Regions from separate parts of the Homo sapiens genome. Here regions 1 and 2 are each linked to region 3. Evidence: promoter capture Hi-C in human tissues and cell types (Jung and others, 2019). All regions are on one chromosome and are shown on one strand. Each heading gives the region's core, a stretch centred on a gene start or on the middle of the fragment in contact. The rest is flanking DNA. Distances are from core to core; before and after follow the strand shown.

Region 1 (3,769 bases), core at 551-3,050, 520 kb after region 3:
ATCTCCAGGTACAAAAACAAAGAGGGTAAAACAGGTGCAACAGTGAATGGAAACTGGGGACATATGGAGAAATTCATTACCAAAAGAGACCATCCACAGACCCAACAAAACAGGAAAATTCATACCTAATGGACGAAAGATAATAAAATAATTTTAAAAAGAAACTAAAGTAAGTATATTTTTAAATATCCAAAAACATTCTATTCCAAAAAGGAACAGAATCTTTTAAAAAAATAGATATTATGAAACAGTAAGAGGCCAGCCTGAATATAAAACAAGTAAAACTTCTAGAAATGAAAATCTCAAAAGATGTGTTAAACAGTAAATTATATAGATAAGAAACAATTATTGATTGGAAGAAATCACTCAGAACACAGAGGAATAAAAAGATGAAAAGTATAAAAAAGAAGATAAAAGACATAAAGGATAAAATCAGAAGCTTAATAACAAGTAGAAGTCCCAGAAAGAAAGAACAAAGAAAACAGTAAGAAGGAATTATTCAAAGAGAATATACTGATAATTAAAATGTAAGACCTCAAACTGAAAAAGCACATCAGCCTCAAGTAGCATACATTAAAAAGAAACCAAATTTGCCTAAATACATGGAAGGGAAATTGCAAAACATTAAAGAACAAGAATCATTAAAAAAATGAGACATAAAAGACTGACAAAGCAATAATATATTGCTTTTAAAAGCAAGATATTAAAAGACAGAAATACCTTCAAAGTGCTGAGAGAGTTGGTATATTCCCAGGTAAATTATCATTTAAAATGAAAGCAAAATAATCATTTTCAGACATACAAGGACTAAGAGAGTTTATTACCAAGCCCCTCATTAAAAGTACTTAAAGGAATATTTCAACAATAAAGAAAATAAACCCAAAGGAGTGGAATAGCAAGGAGCAATGAATAGAATAAACTGTTAACGGATAGAATAAATGGGTGGATGAAAGAACAAAGAAAATAAAACATTTATTTTGAATAGTGTGATGAAGTATAATAAAAATGTTTCCATGTAAATAATTTTCTATAATTACGTAGATGCTTCACAATTTTACAAATTGGCTATTATTGGCTATTTAGGTTGTTTCTAATTTTCCACTATTATAAACTACAGTGTAATTACCCTGCTTACACATAAATCCATACTGCTGCCTATAATTATTTCTTTAAAACAATCAACAAAGACACAACCTGTATAAAGGGAGAAAATATTTGCCAACTAGTCATCCAACAAGGGACTAATATCTAGAATGTATGAGAAACTCAAACAACTCAACAGCAAAGAAACAAATAGTTCCATTAAAAAGTGGGCAAAGAATCTGAATAGACATTTCTCAAAAGAAGACATACAAATGACCAAAAGGTATTTTTTTTAATGCTCAACATCATTAATCATCAGGGAAATGCAAATAAAAACCACAATGAGATACCATCTCACCCCAGTTACAATAGCTATCACCAAACGGATAAAAAATAACAAATGCTGGTGAGGATGTAGCAAAAGAGGCCTCTTTTTTTTTTTTTCTTTTTAGATAGATTTTCGCTCTTGTCACCCAGGCTGGAGTGCAGTGGCACGAGCTCAGCTTACTGCAACCTCTGCCTCCCGGGTTCAAGCAGTTCTCCTGCCTCAGCCTCCTGAGTAGCTGGGATTACAGGCACATGCCACCACGCCCAGCTAATTTTTTGTTTTTAGTAGAGACGGGATTTTGCCATGTTGGCCAAGCTGGTCTCGAACTCCTGACCTCAGGTGATCCACCTGCCTCGGCCTCCCAAAGTGCCGGGATTACAGGCGTGAGCCACGACGCCTGGCGAGAAAGAGGACTCTTATACACTGTTGGTGGGAATGTAAATTAGTACAGCCATTATGAAAAACAGTATGGGCTGGGTACGCTGGCTCATAGCTGTAATTCCAGCACTTTGGAAGGCTGAAGCAGGAGGATCACTTGAGGCCAAGAGTTTGAGGGCAGCCTGGGCAACATAGCAAGATCCTTCTTCTCTGAAAAATTTAAAAATTAGCTGGGTGTGGTGGTGGGTGCCTGTAGTCCCAGTGACACCAAGGTGGGAAGATCCCTTGAGCCCTAAAGTGTGAGCCTGCAAGAAACAGTGTTCTTACTACTACACTACAGCCTAGGCAACACAGTGAGATCCTGTCTCAAAAAAAGAAAGAAAAACTGTACAGAGGCTTCTCAAAAAATTAAAAATAAAACTACCATATGATCCAGCAATCCCACTACTGGGTATTTATCCAAAGGAAAAAAAATCAGTATATCAAAGAGATACCTACAGCCCCATGTTTATTGCAGCAGCATTCACAATAGCCAAGATATGGAATCAACCTAAGTGTCTGTCAATGGATGACTGGATAAAGAAAATGTGGTGTATATACACAATGAAATACCGTTCAGCCATTAAAAAAAAGAATGGGTCAGGCGCGATGGCTCATGCCTATAATCCCAGCACTTTGGGAGGTGGAGGCGGGCCGATCAGGTCAGGAGATCGAGACCATCCTGGCTAACATGGTGAAACCCCGTCTCTACTAAAAAATACAAAAAATTAGCCAGGCGTGGTGGCATGCACCTGTATTCCCAGCTGCTCCGGAGGCTGAGGCAGGAGAATCGCTTGAACCCAGGAGGCGGAGGTTGCGGTGAACCCAGATCTCACCACTGCACTCCAGCTTGGGCAACAGAGCGAGACTCCGTCTAGGGAGAAAAAAAAAAAAAAGAATGAAATCCTGTCATTTACAACAACATGGATGGAACATCTAGCCTGTACTCCCAGCTACTCAGGAAGCCGAGGTAGGAGGATCACTTGAGCCCAGAAATTAGAAGCCAGCCTGGGCAATATAATGAGACCTCCATTTCTAAATAAAAAGGGGGAAAAAAGTTGATCTCCTGGAGGTAGAGAGTAGAGTGATGGGAAGGGGCAGGAGGGGTGAAGAGAAGTTGATTAATGGGTACAAACATACAGTTAGATAGAAGGAATACATTATTCATGTTTAATAACACAGTGAGGTAGCTATAGTTAACAATAATTTATTGCATATTTCAAAATAGCTAGAAGATCTGAAGTGCTCCTAACACAAAGAAATAATAAATGTTTGACATGATATATATCCCAAATACCCTGATTTGATCATTACACATTGTATGTATGTATCAAAACATCACATGTATCCTATAAATATGTAAAATTATTGTGTATTAATTGAAAAAAGTAACATAAAAATAAAAAATAAATATCTAGAAATAGAATTATTAGGTAGACAGATTTTTCAAGGTTTTTAAAACATATATATAGCCATATCCCACAAAAGGTTATGCCTATTATGTTCCTACCAGAAACATAACACAATGTCCATTTATCCATATTCCAAGCAATATACTTAGTATTATCATTCTTAGACATGTCATTGGTGAAAAAAATGATGTCTCATTATTGCTTTACTTTGCATTCCTTAAATTACTAACAGGGTGGATTTATCAGCCATTTGCATTTCTTTTTTTTTTTTCTTTTTTTTTGTTTTGAGACGGAGTCTCACTCTTTTGCCCAGGCTGGAGTGAAGTGGTGCGATCTCAGCTCACTGCAACCTCCGCCCCTTAGGTTCAAGTGACTCTCCTGCCTCAGCCTCCCAAGTAGCTGGGATTACAGGCACGTGCCACCACGCCCAGCTAATTTTTGTATTTTTAGTAGAGACGGGGTTTCACCATGTTGGCCAGGCTGGTCTCGAACTCCCGACCTCAGGTGATCCACCTGCCTCGGCCTCCCA
Region 2 (3,953 bases), core at 173-2,672, 970 kb before region 3:
TACGGTTTTTTTAATATCCATTCATCCATTGGTAGAAACTTAGTTTGATTCCATATCTTGGCTATTGTGAATAGTGCTGTAATAAACATGGAGTACAGATATCTCTGTTAGACTGATTAACTTTCTTTTGGATGTATACCCAGCAGTGGGATTGCCAGATCATATGGTAATTTTATTTTTAATTTCTTTGGGAAATTTCCATGCTTTTCTCCATAGCAGTTGTACTAATTTACATTCCCACCAACAGTGTACTGGTATTCCCCTTTACATCCTTGCCAGCATTTGTTATTTTTTGTCTTTTAAATAATAGTCATTTTAACTCAGGTGAGATAATACCTCATTGTGTTATTGAGTTGCATTTCCCTGATGATTAGAGATCATTTTTTTTATATACCTGTTGGTCATTGTATATCTTCTTTGAGAAATATGTATTCAGATCTTTTGCTATTTTTAAATCAGGTTTTTTTTGTTGTTGTTACTGAGTTGTTTGGGTTCCTTGTATATTCTGGTTATTAATCCCTTGTTGGATAGTTTGCCAATTTTTCTCCTATTCTCTAGGTTGCCTGTTCACTTTGTTTATTGTTGCCTTTGCTATGCAGAAGCTTTTTAGTTTGATATAATCCCATTTGTTGATTTTTGTTCTTGTTGCCTGTGCTTTTGAGGTCTTAACTCAAAAGGTCATTGCCCAGACCAAAGTCCTGAAGCATCTCCCCAATGTTTTCTTCTACACAGAAGCTTTTTAGTTTAGTATAATCCCATTTGTCTATTTTTGTTCTTATTGCCTGTGCTTTTGAGGTCTTACTCAAGAAGTCGTTGCCCAGACCAATGTCCTGAAGCATCTCCCCAATGTTTTCTTCTAGTAGGGTTATAATTTTGTAACTGCCCAACGGGTTCACTTTGCCTAGACAGAGCTGATGTATCAAGGCAGAGGAATTGCAATGGAGAAAGAGTAATTCACGCAGAGTCAGCTGTGAGGATACTGGAGTTTTATTATTAGTCAAATCTGTCTCCCCGAAAACTTGGGAATCGGAGGTTTTAAAGATAATTTGGCAGGTAGGGGCCTAGGAAATGGGGAGTGTTGATTGGTTGGGTTAGAAATGAAATCATAGGGGGTCTAAGTGAGTTCTTGCCAACTTATGATCCTGGGTGGGATCACAGAACTGATTGAGCCAGATTACCGGCTTTGGTGGTGTAAGCTAATCCATTGAGTGCAGGGTCTGCAAAATATCTCAAGCACTGACCTTGAATTTTACAATAGCAGTGTTATCCCAGGAGCAATTTGGGGAGGATCAGACTCTTGCAGCCGGAGTCTGAATGACCCCTAACCATAATTTCTAATCTTGTAGCTAATTTGTTAGTCCTACAAAAGCAAACTGGTTCCCAGGCAAGAGGGAGGTCTTTTCAGAAAAAGGCTATTACCAATTTTGTTTCAGAGTCAAACTGTAAACTCATTTCCTTCCCAAGGTTAGTTTGGCCTATGCCCAGGAATGAACAAGGACAGCTTAAAGGTTAGAAGCAAGGTGGGGTCAGTTAGGTGTGGTCTTTTTTTTTTTTTTTTTTTTTTGCTTAGCATTACTTTGGCTATTCAAGGCATTTTGTGGTTTCATACGAATTTTAGGATTTTTTTTTCTATTTCTGTGAAGAACGTCATTGGTATTTTGATAAAGATTACATTGACAGTATATCGCTTTGGGTAGCATAAGCATTTCAACAACATCAATTCTCCCAATCCATGAACGTGGGATATCTCCATTTTTTGTGTGTCCCCTTCAATTTTTTTCATCAGTGTTTTATAGTTTTTATTGTAGAGACCTTTTACTTCTTTGTTGAAGTTTATTCCTAGATTTTTTGTGTGTGTGGCTATTGTTAATGGAATTGATTTCTTGATTTCTTTTTCAGATTGTTTACTATTGGCATATGGAAATGCTACTGATTTTGTATGTTGATTTTTGTATTCTGAAACTTTACTGAATTTATAATTTCTAAGAGTTTTTTTGGTGGATATTTAGGTTTTTCTAAATACAAGATCATATATCAACAAGATATATAAGATCATATATCTTACGTATGATACATAAGATCATATATCTTACGTATGATACGTAAGATCATATATCAAATAAGAACAATTTGACTTCTTTTCAATTTTGATGTACTTTATTTCTTTCTCTTGTCTAATTGCTGTGGCTAGGACTTCAAGTTCTGTGTTGAATACAAGTGATGAAAGTGAGCATCCTTGTCTTGTTCAAGATCTTAGAGGAAAGGCTTTGAGTTTTTTCCCATTCAATGATGCTAGCTTGTTTTGTGTCCTTGTTTGGTGGGTTTGTCATGCATGACCTTTATTATGTTGAGGTATGTTCCTTCAGTATCCAGTTTATTGAGAGTTTTTATCATGAAAGGATGTTGAAATGTATGAAATGCTTTTTCAGCATCTATTGAAATGATCACATGATTCTTGTTCTTGATTCTATCAATGTGATGTATCGAATTTGTTGATTTGCATATGTTGAACCATTCTTGCATTCTGGGATGAATCCCACTTGATCATGGTGAATGATCATTTTAATGTGTGGTTTAATTCTGCTTGCTAATGTTTTGTTGAGGGTTTTTGCATCTGTGCTCATCAGGAATATTGAACTGTAGTTTTCCTTTTTTATTTTGTCTTTGTCTGATTTTGGTATCGGGGTAATGCTGGTCTTGTAGAATGTGTTTTCCTTTTTTATTTTGTCTTTGTCTGGTTTTGGCCTCAGGGTAATGCTGGCCTTGTAGAGTGTGTTTGGAAGTATTCTCTCCTCTTCAGTGTTTTGGAATAGCTGTGGTAGAATTCGTATTGATTGGCATTAGTTCTTCTTTAAATGCTTGCTAGAGTTCAGTAGTGAAGCCATCAGGTCTTAAGCTTTTCTTTGATGGGAGACTTTTATTACAGCCTCTTTCTCATTATTTCTGTTTGGGTTTTCTTTTTCTTCGTGATTCAATCCTGGTAAGTTGTCCGTGTCTAGGAATTAATCCATCTCTTCTAGGTTTTCCAATCTATTGACTTATAGTTGCTTGTAACAATCTCTAATTAGCCTTTAAATTTTTGTGATATCAGTGTAATATCTCCTTTTTTGCCTCTGATTTTATGTATTTGTGTCTTCTCTGTTTTTTTTAGTCTAGCTAAAGGTTTGTTGATTTTAACTTTTCAATAAACCAACTTTTTAATTCATTGATCTTTTTATTGCTTTTTTAGTCTATTTTATTTATTTCTACACTGATCTTATTTCTTTCCTTCTACTAATTTTGGATTTGGTTTGTCTTTTTCTAATTTAAGGTACATCTTTAGATTGTTTATGTGAAGTTTTTCTTTTTTCATGTAGATGTTTATTACTATAAGCTTCCCTCTTACTACTGCTTCTGCTGTATCGCATAGGTTTTGATGTGTTGTGTTTTCATTTTTATTGCTTCAAGACGTTTTAAAATTTCCTTCCTAATTTCATCATTGACTCATTGGTCATTTGGGAGCATGTTATTTTTTATGTAGTTGTATAGTTTCTAGAGTTCTTGTTATTGATTTCTAGTTATATTTCATTGTCGTTAGAAAAGTCCTTGATATGATTTTGAGTTTTATGAATTTGTTAAAACTTGTTTTGTGTTCTATGATACAGTCTACCCTGGAGAATGTACCATGTACTCATGAGAAGAATATGTATTCTGCAGCAGTTGGGTGAAATGTTCTCTAAGTGTCAAGTCCATTTGGTGTAGAATGTAATTCCAGTCTTTCTTTGTTGATTTTGTCTGGATGATCTGTCTGTTATTGAGAGTGGGTGTTGAAATCCACAACCATTAATGTATTGTAGTCTATCTCTTCCTTTAGATCTATTAATATTTGTGTTATGTGTTTAGGTTCTCCAATATTGGTTGCATATATATTTATAATTGTTATATGCTTTTGCTGAATTGACCTCATTATGATT
Region 3 (3,705 bases), core at 901-3,400:
AGGATTCAAACCCCAAACTGTCTATCTCTCCAAAGCAATTGCTCTTCCAAGTATGCATGATGTTCCCTACCTTCACCATCGCTACGTACCCACCTACTCTCTGCTTCAATGCCTGGTTAAAAACAAAATAAACCACCCTTCTCCCAGACGTCTTTCCTACTCACTCAGGACAGGAGTGCCTGAGTCCAGCCCTTGATCTTCCACAATACGTTAACAAATCATCACCAACTGGGAGAGGAAAGGGTGCCCCCTTGGTAGCTGAGAACTGAACAGCCTGTTGGGTATTCTGCAGATGGTGGGGTGAAGTCCTCAGCTCCTTCTTCTCCTGCCTTTCCCCACAGGTGCAGTGCCTGGGCCCTTCCTGCCTCTCTTCCTTCTTCAGGATCCAAAGCCTTTTTAGTTCTCCCCATTCTAAACCCAAAATAATCTCCTCAGGCCCATTACTTCTCTAACCCAGTGAATGGTGTTGAAAATGCACTCTTCCATTATATCAGTGAGACCTTTGTATTTTAAGCATCTCATCAACCATTAGGGCTGGCAAGCATCCCCATGCCCTGAAACACAAGAATTTTGTGAGAAGGGATAATGGCATTTTAGGAGGCCCAATCACCTGACCCTCCATCAATCTGAATATTTTTGGCGGCCTGGGAGTAAAAAGAGACAACCTATAACATCCCTCCCCACCCCCTGCCCCAGCAGCCTTTGTCCCCTAGCCCGGGTCTCTACGGGAGGGATGAAATCTGGCCCAGCAATGCTGCAGGGGAGGGATGGTGAACCCTGGTGCCTTCCTCTACATCTTCCTCCAGGACTTCAGAATCCTTCTTCTCCCCCTTGTCCATCCCATGTCTCTCTCTGGCCCTGGACTCCCACAGCCATCCTCAATCCTAACTCAGAAACTATGTTTTTTAATTAATATTCAGCAATTTCCTTGGAATACAATCATCTGCTCTGACATGCTGAAAGGCACACTCTCTGGCCCTGATATTATCCTACCTCCAGTTTTAAATGTATGACAAATATATCCCTGCATCCTATAACTACTCTCCTCGATACTGCAGGAACGTCTGTAATGTTAAATGTTATCACGCCTAAGAAATACCCAACCTCCTGAATCGGAATAGGGAGACTAAATTCTTCACTGTTTCGTACTCCTAAATAAAGATTATTCATGCAATTTACAGTAACTACCTCACAGCGCCAGGGTGATGATTCAATGATAATTCATGCCAACTGTTTAGTACCTAGGGCCTGGTACATACAGAGTGCTCAAAATTTAGCTGTTATCATTTACATACATTATCTTTCACAATAGTACCTGAGGGTAGATATTATACCACGCCCCCCCGACCCCCGCCTCTAATTTACAGAAACAGTAGCCCCGGCTCGGAGTAAAGGAGCTTTCCCAAGGTCAGTCAAGCAAGGATGTGATGCTCGGCCTTCATCCTGCAAGTGAGGGATCCCTCCCGTTACACTCTGGACGGGCGGGGCACTGGAGGTCTTAAAGGAGACAAGTATGGAAAAGCGCCGAGCACAGTGATCAGCACACAGTGGGGACGCCGGGATGGGAAGACCGCGGTACTGCAGGTCACCTGGATTCCCCCCGAGCAGCTCCCCGAGCCCGGGAGTCCAAAGCCCACCCCGCTCCCAGCCGTGGGCGCGCCACTGAGTACCCCAGAGGCCCGCGCCCCGGGGCTTTGTAGGCAGCAGGCCGGCCCTACTCACCGAGTCCCATCGCGGCGCGCAGAGGCGGCCGCCCGGCGCCCAGCCTGCAAGGCCGGGGTCGCAGCGGCTCGGCCCGAAAACCCTCCATGCCGGCCCCCGGCCCCCTCTACGCCCGGCCCGCGCCCCCCACCCCCGCCCCCGCCCGGCTGCGGCCCGCCCGGAAGGGGAGCCTCCTACCTGCAGCGGCGGCGCGGCAGCCGCGGCGACCGGGGGAGGGGCCGGCGAGGCGCGAGGGCGGGCGGCCTGGGCTCCTCTCGCAAGCAGGGCGGCCGGGAGGGCCGCGGGCTCCCGAACGCCGGGCGGCGGCGGCGGCGGCGGCGCGCCCCCGGCCGGCCAGGCCCCGCCGCGCGCGCCGCGGCCACAAAGCCCGGACGCCGCCGCCCCCTCGCGGACCGCCCGCCGCCTGCCGGTCCGTCGGCGCCGCCGAGGAGGGCGGGAGCGCGGCCCCGCGCCAGTCCCCACTTCCCCGAGCTGCGGCCGCCGGCCTCCAGGGGACTGGGGCGGGGCGCGGGGTGCCCCCCCGCCCACCTGCCCGTCCGCACCGACCCCGCTCCTGACATCCTCGGGCTGACGTCCTCGTGCTGATTTAGTTGCCTTTTTTCCCCACCTTTGCAGAGGAGCTCCTGAAGCGGCCCGAAAAACTGTTTTATTTCTATGAACAACAAAAGAATACATTTGTCACACGGGATTTGGCGGCCATGAACACGAGTTAGTTCAGTCCAGGTCCCCCGACTGAAATAGGCCCTTTTCTTTTAGGACTCCTTGATACTTGGGACAGCGAATCCCCCTATGCTGAGTTTATCAGAACTTCTGTTAATTTGTGGAACGTGCCTCCCCCAGGAGAGCGACTGTGCTCACTGGAGCCCAGGACCTGTCTCGGACACTGTGCTGACTCATTTGGAATTAATGCGTGTGTAAATGCATGCACAACAGCTCAAACTGTCGGGACAAGCCACCCTTTGCTCCTCCCGCAAACAGAGTGGCTGGATGTTTCTTTTGCCCTGGATCCATTGGGAAGACTCCAACCCCAGAGAAAGGCAGAGAAGGCTTTTTAACTTTTTTTTTTTTTGAGGTGAAATTCGCATAACATAAACCACTTAAAAGCGAACGATTTGGTGGCATTTATTACATTCATAATGTTGAGCAACCACTTCTATCTAGTTCTGAAACATCCATACTCCATTAAGCAGTAATTCCCCAGTCCCTCCTTCCTCCAGACCCTGGCAACGACTCAGCTATTTTCTATCTCTGTGAGTTTACTTTTTTCTGGGTATTTCATATAAATGCAACCATACAATATGCGGCCTTTTGTGTCGTTTCTTTGACTTAGCCTGTATTTAAGATTCATCCATGTTGAGGCGTGGATCAGTACTTCATTCCTTTTTATGGCTGATTAATATCCCATTGTATGTGTATATTATAATTTGTTTATTCATTCATCCCTTGATAGATATTTGGGTTACTTCCACCTTTTGGCTATTGTGAATAGTGCTGCTCTGAACATGCCTGTACACATATTTGAGTACCTGTTCCCAGTTCTTTTGGATACATACCTAGGAGTGGACTTTCTGGGTCATAGGGTAATTCTATGTTTAACTTTTCCAGGAACTGCCAAAAAGTTTTCCACAGCAGCTGAATGAATCATTTTACATTCCCATCACCAATGTTTGAGGGTTCCAAGTTTCCACAACCTTGTCAACACTTGCAATTTTCCGTTTTTGTGTTTTAATTCCTTGAACATTTTTGAGACTATTGCTTGCCCTCCCAACTCCCACTATCCATAGCCCTAAAGTAAAAACTGATCTAGGTTTTCACTATGTACAAAGAATCACGCAACCCTTTCTTTCTTCCCTCAAAAAACAATCCAGGGCAGAAGCACCAATAAAAATAAAGACCCTAAACTAAGAGCTATACTGGTCCTCATTCTTTTTCTTTTCTTTTTTTTTTTTTTTTTTTGAGACAGAGTCTGCTGGAGTGCAATGG

The links. Contacts are between HindIII fragments. The study calls those that stand out against the background at their distance.
Region 1: a fragment that was not itself captured here is called in contact with the fragment with the promoter of MSANTD3 in region 3 in 1 of the 25 tissues and cell types used here (dorsolateral prefrontal cortex).
Region 2: a fragment that was not itself captured here is called in contact with the fragment with the promoter of MSANTD3 in region 3 in 1 of the 25 tissues and cell types used here (dorsolateral prefrontal cortex).

What each region holds. Positions count from the first base shown.
Region 1 is chr9:99,909,990-99,913,758 of GRCh38, reverse strand. The region is part of intron 1 of STX17 (syntaxin 17); the gene reads right to left. Among named protein-coding and RNA genes, the nearest start is that of STX17, 5.2 kb to the right of the region's middle. The HindIII fragment of the contact is 3,702 bases long and covers 1-3,651 here.
Region 2 is chr9:101,391,602-101,395,554 of GRCh38, reverse strand. All of the region lies in intron 1 of MRPL50 (mitochondrial ribosomal protein L50), which reads left to right. Among named protein-coding and RNA genes, the nearest start is that of MRPL50, 5.0 kb to the left of the region's middle. The HindIII fragment of the contact is 6,468 bases long and covers 1-3,953 here.
Region 3 is chr9:100,425,588-100,429,292 of GRCh38, reverse strand. It overlaps MSANTD3 (Myb/SANT DNA binding domain containing 3), which reads right to left and starts at 2,150. Exons shown (of 3, transcript NM_080655.3): 1 at 1,900-2,150. RefSeq lists silencers at 1,654-1,773, 1,814-2,043, 2,084-2,313. The HindIII fragment of the contact is 14,283 bases long and covers 1-3,705 here.